3 separate regions of the Homo sapiens genome follow, and all the other regions are linked to region 1. The links are contacts of gene promoters, found by promoter capture Hi-C in blood cells and fetal thymus (Javierre and others, 2016). All regions are on one chromosome and are shown on one strand. The core of a region is centred on a gene start or on the middle of the fragment in contact, and the rest is flanking DNA. Distances in the headings are between cores, read along the strand shown.

Evidence for each region. The method cuts DNA at HindIII sites, captures the fragments that hold promoters and counts their contacts. A CHiCAGO score of 5 or more calls a contact.
Region 2: a fragment that was not itself captured here is called in contact with the fragment with the promoter of UCHL5 in region 1 in 5 of 17 cell types (monocytes, neutrophils, M2 macrophages and 2 more); the score reaches 10.5 in monocytes.
Region 3: a contact is called between a fragment that was not itself captured here and the fragment with the promoter of UCHL5 in region 1, in 1 of 17 cell types (neutrophils). The highest score is 5.8, in neutrophils.

What each region holds. Positions count from the first base shown.
Region 1 is chr1:193,057,853-193,060,666 of GRCh38, forward strand. It overlaps UCHL5 (ubiquitin C-terminal hydrolase L5), which reads right to left and starts at 1,508. Exons shown (of 11, transcript NM_001199261.3): 1 at 1,333-1,508. The coding sequence starts at 1,408. RO60 (Ro60, Y RNA binding protein) reads left to right here and starts at 1,760. Exons shown (of 9, transcript NM_001173524.2): 1 at 1,760-1,924. RefSeq lists enhancers at 860-1,169, 1,194-1,926, 1,330-1,859, 1,927-2,659. The HindIII fragment of the contact is 5,498 bases long and covers 1-2,814 here.
Region 2 is chr1:192,787,553-192,790,252 of GRCh38, forward strand. All of the region lies in intron 1 of LOC105371665 (a long non-coding RNA gene), which reads right to left. Among named protein-coding and RNA genes, the nearest start is that of RGS2, 20 kb to the right of the region's middle. The HindIII fragment of the contact is 744 bases long and covers 1,013-1,756 here.
Region 3 is chr1:192,742,994-192,745,736 of GRCh38, forward strand. No RefSeq gene overlaps it. Among named protein-coding and RNA genes, the nearest start is that of MIR4426, 28 kb to the left of the region's middle. The HindIII fragment of the contact is 832 bases long and covers 1,022-1,853 here.

The DNA of each region.
Region 1 (2,814 bases), core at 258-2,757:
CTCTAACATAGCAATTAACACACCATATTATAGTTTGACTGTCAATTATTCGAAACAGCAGTTATGGTTTATTCACATGAAAATTTCCCAATCCTTGGGTGGGCGCGTGGCTCACGCCTGTAATCCCAACACTTTGGGAGGCCGAGGCGGGTGGATCACGAGGTCAGGAGCTGAGACCAGCCTGGCCAGCATGGTGAAACCCTGTCTCTACTAAAAAAAAAAAAATTAGCCGGGCATGGTGGCGCGTGCCTGTAATCCCAGCTACTCGGGAGGCTGAAGTAGGAGATTCGCTTGACCCCGAGAGATGGAGGTTGCAGTGGGCCAAGATCGCGCCACTGCACTCCAGCCTGGGCGACAGAGCGAGACTCTGTCTCAAACAAAAAAAAGAAAATTTCCCAATCCTTACCACTGTGCCTGAGATATAGAAGATGAACAACATATGCTTGATAAATGACATTCCAAATATTAAGCTGTGTACAACAGGCAATATCTACATCAACGTTTAATTGTTAATCCCGCGTAAAAGTTTTAACATCGTAGAGTCAATAACACTTGGGAAATAGATAAAAACGTACTGTCCAAAGAAGAGACTAAGAACAAGATAAATAGGGAAGGATAAAAAGTAAAATGTGTTGATTATTTAGGACGAAAGGCACTAAATACAGCCAGAGAGAAACTGTGAGGAAAGCATGTGGCCTCTAGTCTAGAACACTAGCTCAAGAAAACTCACTTCACCGGAAGCCAGAAATGAGCAGAGAGCGGAACCAGTGAAGTGGCCTTTCAGGCCCACGCAGTCAGCGTGTGTGGACGTCCCGAAGAGCTATTCACACATTCAAGGCGTTCTGCTTTGAATAACCAGAATCTCGAGTTCCTGGGCGGCTTGAGCCGCAGACACCTCACCCTTGAGAAGGCGCACCCTAGGGTGGCTTCTGCAGGACTAATGGCCTGAGCAATGCACTTGACCTCACCAGCCCGGGATAAGGTGCGCGCCGCAGAGAAGGGGCAGTGCAAAGGGCAATACGTGCTTAAGAGCTTGGGGAGCGAGGGCCCTCAAGTCAATTACAGGATTTGGGTGCCAGGTCCTGAGGATGCAGCAGGCACAAGACTGACACGATCCTTGCCCTCGTGGTGTGGCTCTACAAATTACTGTGGAAACGCGACTGTCTCGAGCTGAGGAGAGGGCAGAACATCTACATTTCCCCCACCCGGACTCCAGGTTCCTGAAGTCACCTCTCCAGACGCGGGGCGGCGGTGGCCGCAGGGAACCACTCCATGCCCAGCTTGGGCCTCCTCCCGTGACCCCAGGCCCAGGACGGTCCCCTTGGTTCTCACCGAATCCTTTAATGAGCTCGGTGAAGACCCCGGGGTCGCTTTCCATGAGGCACCACTCCCCGGCATTGCCCGTCATGGCCCTGGCCACACACCGCCCCGATCCACCTCTCGCTCTCAGCTGCCCCCCGCACCAGCTGCCGCCGGCCACAGATCTCAGCAAACCCGCCGCCGAGCTCGTCAACCACACGTCACCCCGCCTACTTCCCGACAGCCTCCGGGCGCCGTCACCTGCAGCGCGACTGAGCGCGGGAGGACGCTCTAGCCACCCTAGAGACATCGAAACTCTTCCCAGGCCTTGCAGCACCCGTAGCGGATTCGGAAGGGCTGGGGCCTGAGAAGAAAGGGCGGTGATTCACAGCGCCGAGGAGGCAACATCCGGGATCCTCGCCCCTCTGGGGCGGAGGCGGGGCAAAAGAAGAGGGGCAGGACTCGTTCCCGGGAACCGAACCTGGAATCCCCGGCGGCAGTGGGGCTGTTGCTGTTGCTGTGGCTGTCGCTGCCCGTCAGGCTGCCTTCTTTTGTCGTTTCCCAGCGCTGCGCAGGACTTCTCCTGGCGGCGCTGCGGATCCAGGGGGTCGGCTGCCAGGTACAGGTGAGGACATTGCGGGAGGCCGGCTGGGAGCCTTTTGTGCGGCCCCAGGGACGCGCAAATTCTGACCAGTCCTCCATGTCTCTCACCCGCATCCCAGGGGTTGAGGCTGGGCAAACGCCGCGAAACTATCGCTCTTCCCCGTCCCGCTTCCGCGCCTGTCCACCCTGGGTAACGGAACCAGCATCGCGGTAGGGACATCCTCGCTAGGCCCGGCCGGACCATTCCTCAGGGTGGGCCCTTTCCGAAGCCGGGACCGCTCCTGCTTGTCGGCATCGCTCCCCACAGGCCGACGTCGAGAGGGCCTGCTTTACTCCTCCTCTTTCTCCTCCTTCTCCCGCGGCTTCTGCGCGGAGAGGCGTCGCCCGGGATCTGGGTTTTGGAAGAAGGATCTTTGTGGGAAGACAGGGTGAATTTATCACAGAGGAATAACGAGGGAGAGGAGAAAGGTTTGTCCATGGGGCTGCTAGACTAGTGGAAGGGGATGCGGTGCGTCAAGGGAAAATTAGGTTGAAAACAAATGTCGTGTATTAATCTAAAAACATTTGGAATGGTTCTAAAACTGGATGATGAGTTAAACCAAATATTTACTAAATATTTACTAAATTGCCCTCATTCAGCAGGCTCTTATAGAATACTATAGTGTTAAGATTAAAGTTTTTAAGAGTATATTGAAGTCGTTAAGTGTATATTTACTCCTTAAAAGCTACATATTCCAAGAAAGACCTTTGGCTTCCAGAAAAAAAAAATGTTTTAGTGGGTAAAACTCTGACTCCTTCCTTCTCAAATAGGTGACTTGTGCCCTGGAGTTAGGGAGCCTTGTGCTACAGATTATGTGAAGCCATGAAATAAACGTGGTAAATTTTATTGAGGGAAGCAACAGAGCAGCTTTT
Region 2 (2,700 bases), core at 135-2,634, 270 kb before region 1:
GTCCAGAAATTTTGAGCAAATGGTCAAAAGTATGATTATGACTTTATCTTAAAAATAAAATTAGAATTATAAAAATAAGTATTTTGAAATATTACTAATATTTAGATTATAGCTTTCAGTATATACCAAGTATTAGAATGAACAAAGTGTCAAGTCATGGAGTTAGGAGGACAAAACAAAATGCTAGGATAATACGGTTCACGTTGCATTTCGCATTTTTAAGAATATATTCCATGACTTCTAAAATTATTCCAAGACTTTACTACTCAAATCTTTCTTTTTTAGCATGTTTATTATGTTGTGATCCACGTCAATTTTATCTTCTCCAATTGTTAACTGGCCACATTCCCAAATTCTCATTTATCAATGGCTTTTCTGTTGACAACTTCATTAAATTCTACATCTTTTGCAAATTTTACTATTATGCTTTGAATTACATTTACATTGTATATGAGTGGTTTGTTAATCACCAAGACTAATAATAAGTGGGGAGGAGTTTTGGGTGGGAAATATATAGTCTTCTGTTCATTCATGAATATTTTCTTATGTGATGGCTTTGGGGCTCCCTGTGCACTCAATTTGGGGACTAAGGTAATGAATAATCAGAAAAGAAAGACACCCTATACCCTGTGAGTGTAAAAATGAGACTTTGTTTGGCACACAGTAAGCCTCTAATGGTTTCTTATTTGTATTTTTTAAAATAACGCAATAAGCAGAAGCCACTGGCAGAAACAAGGAGAGAAGAAAGGCGTAACGAATCAGTGATGGAACAGGAAGGAATCAACTGAGGGAAGCAAAGGGCTGCTGAGTCACAAGCATGACAGGCAACTAGAATCAGCCCGGGCTCCCCAGAGCTGCTGCTCATCCTGAACACTGCGGGCTTGCTCAGAATTTCCTGGCTGTCCTTTCAGACTTCGTGTGCATCGTGACAATACACCACTCTCACCTAACGGAATCTAAGGATGTCGCTACCCTGAAATAGCCAAATATTCCAGTTGAATCTATTTGTTAAAGCTTAGTCAACCAGATTTGTTTCTAAGGAGACACTGACAATAAAAATAAAAATGAAAAACAGAAAAACATTATTTTCCCTGCATAAAAGAGCCCTTTTCTTTTTAGATCTTCCTGAGTCTCAAAACTGTTCTCTTCCTTGAGTTTCAACAAATCCCAAAGGACTCTTTCTTCAACTTTCACATAAAAGAAAACAATTCCTTAATAATATATTAAGTGTATCATTAGCAATTTACAATTCACAAAGCATTGTATATCACATTTACAAACGGAGGGTTTAAATATAACAAACCCTGTAAATGGAATGTAGAAATGTTCATTTTTAATAAGATCCCTAGTTAACTAATCAATCCCTTATTTCACATTTTCCACTACTAAATGAGAATCCACTTCCAGTTTTACCTTTCTAGGAATATTTGTATGTCATCTAAAGTTGTGAGTGTTTGTTTGTTTGTTTGTTTATTTGTTTTGAGACAGGTTCTTGCTCTGTCGCCCAGGCTGAAGTCCTACAGCACTATTGCAGCTCACTGCGGCCTCGACCTCGTAGGCTCAAATGAACCTCCCACCTCAGCCCCCTGAGTAGCTGGGACTACAGGCACACACCACCACTCCTAGCTAATTTTTGTATTTTTGGAGACAGAGGGTTTCTTTATGTTGCCCAGGTTAGTTGTGTTTAAAAACTCTTTAGCCACACATACATGAAGAGTCTCTTGGTTTATTTCATAAATTACTAGTATCATCTATAAGCTTTTCATTCACTAATTCATTATTTTATTCAACAATTGTATATTGAGCAGACACTTACTATGTACCCAGTAATGCATTAGGGACTGGATCTCAGTAGCTTAACTTTCAGAGTCAAACTTTTGGAGACCATCATGACACAGCCAGGATAGCCATGAGGAGACCTGTTGATGGCAAACCAAGAGGAGCTTCCTAAGGAAACACTAAACGCATGTGACTAAATTCTACAGTAGAAAAATTACAGACTTGGAATTCAAATCCCAGCTCTGCCATTGACTTGCTTGCTATTGATTTGGGGCAGTGCCTTTGCCTCTCCAAACACCTATAAAATGGGAACAATAGCACCTATCTCATTGTGGCACCAGGGTAGGACATAATGGTAATATATGTGAAGCGTCTGGTCAGTCAACATCTAATAAGTGTTCAATAACAAACAACTGCTGTTCTTATGAAAGGGGGGTAGCCTTTTTTCTAAGGGAGGTTCTTGGAAACCCCAATATTATGTATTATTAACATTATTATTTTTAGATGGAAAAAACTTAAGCACAGAGAAGTTAAACCATTTATTCATGTAACAATTTTTTTAGCACTATGGGGGGTACTAATCTCTGCAAATACAGGATTCAGAGGACAGAGTTTGAACCCAGCGCATTCACTGTCTCACAGAGGAGACACAGGATAGTGCTAAGTGCCCCAGAAAGGGAAGAACAGGTTTGTGGGAAAACACAGAGAATGAGCTCATTCAGAATGCAGGGTAGAGTGGGTGACAAGGAGGCTCCCCAGAGGGAAAGTCCTAGTTGAGCTGGAAAGGAAGCATCCTGACCAAAGCCTGGCCTTGAAACCAAATCGCTGTCTCCAAGATCAGTGAACTTCCTACTATGCCAAAGCCTCTTTAATTAAATTCAATTAAATGTTTTCTTAGCACCCACTCTATGGAAAAGTCTG
Region 3 (2,743 bases), core at 188-2,687, 310 kb before region 1:
TCAGGATTTTCCTTTAAATTTCTGGCTACTTACCTAGTCCCATATTGATCTCAGCATCATTAGCTGGTAAGGCTGCAGTTTATTTTCACCACCATTTTCCACAGCCATATCTGTGATAACTGATCATCATTCTTGGCCCATAATCTGCAAATTGACAATTTAAAACCGTTGCAATTGCAAGTGTTCAAAGCCATTCCAGTTGCAGGCTTCTGTTTGCTTTTCAATGGTTTTCAGTGTCTTTTCAGTCCAGCATTTTACAGTTGTTATCTGCAACTACTTTACTTCTCTGCCATTAATTACAATCTTTTTTGACCTATCATTTACCACACATCTAATAATGACAAAATATGTACTAATAAGTTACATTAAATAACTAGCTTATTCAGCACAACAATTCTATTAGATTTCTGTTAAGATTGAGCTCAAACAAGTTAACTAACATACTCAACATCATTAACTAAAAAATTCTAGGACTAGGAATTAAATACAGGATTAGGAATTAAATCTCTCTGCCTCCAGCATTATTCAGTAATACATTTGCTATAATCAAATAATAATAACAGTTAATCTTTAATGCCCTCTTGCTATGTACCAGGCATGGTACTCAAAAATTTAGACTTAATTCTAATTAATACATTTAGTCCTCACAGTAAGCCTATGAAATGGGTACTCTTATCAACTGTTTTATAGATGAGAAAACATTAGCCACAGCTTAGCTTATTTGAAGTCACAATAATATTAACTAAGTAAGAGCAAAAGCCAAGATTCAAATGTAGATTATTTTACTACAGACTGAGAAACGAATTAAACTAGGAGCCTAAGATACTTTCTGGAATTGAAATGATACATTATATATACCTATAAAGATAATTGACTATAGCTTCCTAAACTACAAATTGTCATAAAAATGACTTCTGTCCTATATCAATTAGAAACTGGTATTAAAATTGAGTATTATAAGACAATAGAATGTCTAGAGCTTTTAATACATTGATATCAATATCAATTGATAGACTTCAAAAGCTTCATAATTCATTTATTCAAATAAATAGACTTTAAAACATTGGCTAAACAGTGACTTTTTAAAATCTATAACAGGTGGAGCTCTTTAAAAAATAATTTTTGTTTTATATCCAAGTGATTACTTTTATAACAGCTGAAAATTATTTCCTTAATAAGCTATGTACCAAAAATATTAATAATTTAAATGTTGCTTTTGTATACAGTCCTTCCAAACACACAAGCACCATTACCAAAATCAACATTACCACTTTACTATTTTTATTGCTTGTTTACCAGAATTTCACACACTGGTTTTCCAATTAGATACCTAAATTCTATTGTTAATCCTGAGTCATTCTACAAATGAAGATAAAATTGAGAGAATGATTATTGTCATGTAACTTAACAAATGTTTTTTAAGTAAACTTAGTAAAAGCAGTTACTTTTGAGAAAGCCAATTTTAGGCAATAAACCTACATAGAATCAACTTGTGGAAGATGCAGTGATCTATACAAATCGAGAACTAGGGAAATGAAAACTATCTTAAGGTGATTGCTAAATTTAGATCTCCTAGAGTAGACTCTTTAAGTGAGTTGGAAACTCCCATAGGTAAGTTTATCTGTTTCGGGTAACTATTTTCCTAATGCAAACGTAGCTACAGTTTTCATCCATGGATTCCACAAAATGATATAATCACCTTTTCCTTTGTTCCACCAAAGCCCACAAGGCTGATGATGGTCAGATAACTTATTTCTATAATTACCATATGCTTTGACTTCCAATAAGAAAATAACTGAGAAAACCAGGGAATAAATACAAAGAAGTGTTACACCTGGGGAAAGTATTAGTTAAGCTTCTTGGCCCAGTAGGCTTTAACAAAAAAAAAAAAAAAAAAAAATCAAAGCAAGCAATCCTCCAAAGAAATCCACTCTAGTTATTCCTTACTGCAAGTAAATCCAAATCAAATTAACAAGGGCATTGACTCTAAATAAGGTAGCTCTATCTTAAAGTAACTAATATTTTGCGATGTGATGTATAAAAGACAATACAATAGACAAGACCTCTTTAAATTGTGAGTTGGCTGAAATTGGACTATTTCCATTTCATTTCCTGAAACACAACATACGTTTCATTATTGCAAGTAATTTCTTTAAAAACATCTAGCTACACATTAAAAAATTTATAAGCACTTCAGGGTATTTTTCTCAGCCACTGAAAAATATCTAATTAAATATTGTCATGTACAACATTCATAAAAGAAACATGAAAATAGTCCCTCAAGCCAATTATGTTCCCTTCCCTAGAACGTTTTACTCTCAGAAAGTTCTCAACTCATCTGCACCAGGCCATAGTTGTTGATATCGCTAAAATAGACAGTATTACTAATTGTCTCTCAGTAATAGACTCTTTAAAGTTGAAAGTCCTTCTAGATACAAAGAAAGAAATCATACTGAGAAATGTAGACACAATGAAAAAACAATGAGTGAGCTACCTTTTCCGAGCAGAGAGCATTTATTTCTCAGTATCTTCTTTAATCACACTATGTGGGTGACCCTCTAATTTATCAGTTCATTAACCTGGCCAATGAACTGGCCAGGACCTACTAGTCCTGAATGAATAGGACCTACCGGTAAAGACTAATTTTGCATTGGGCCTGTTTGTCACTGTACTCGTACTCAAGGAAGAAGAGCTCAAGAGCTTTGACTGTTTCTGAGACATAAGAGGAAAAGGAAGAGCAGAG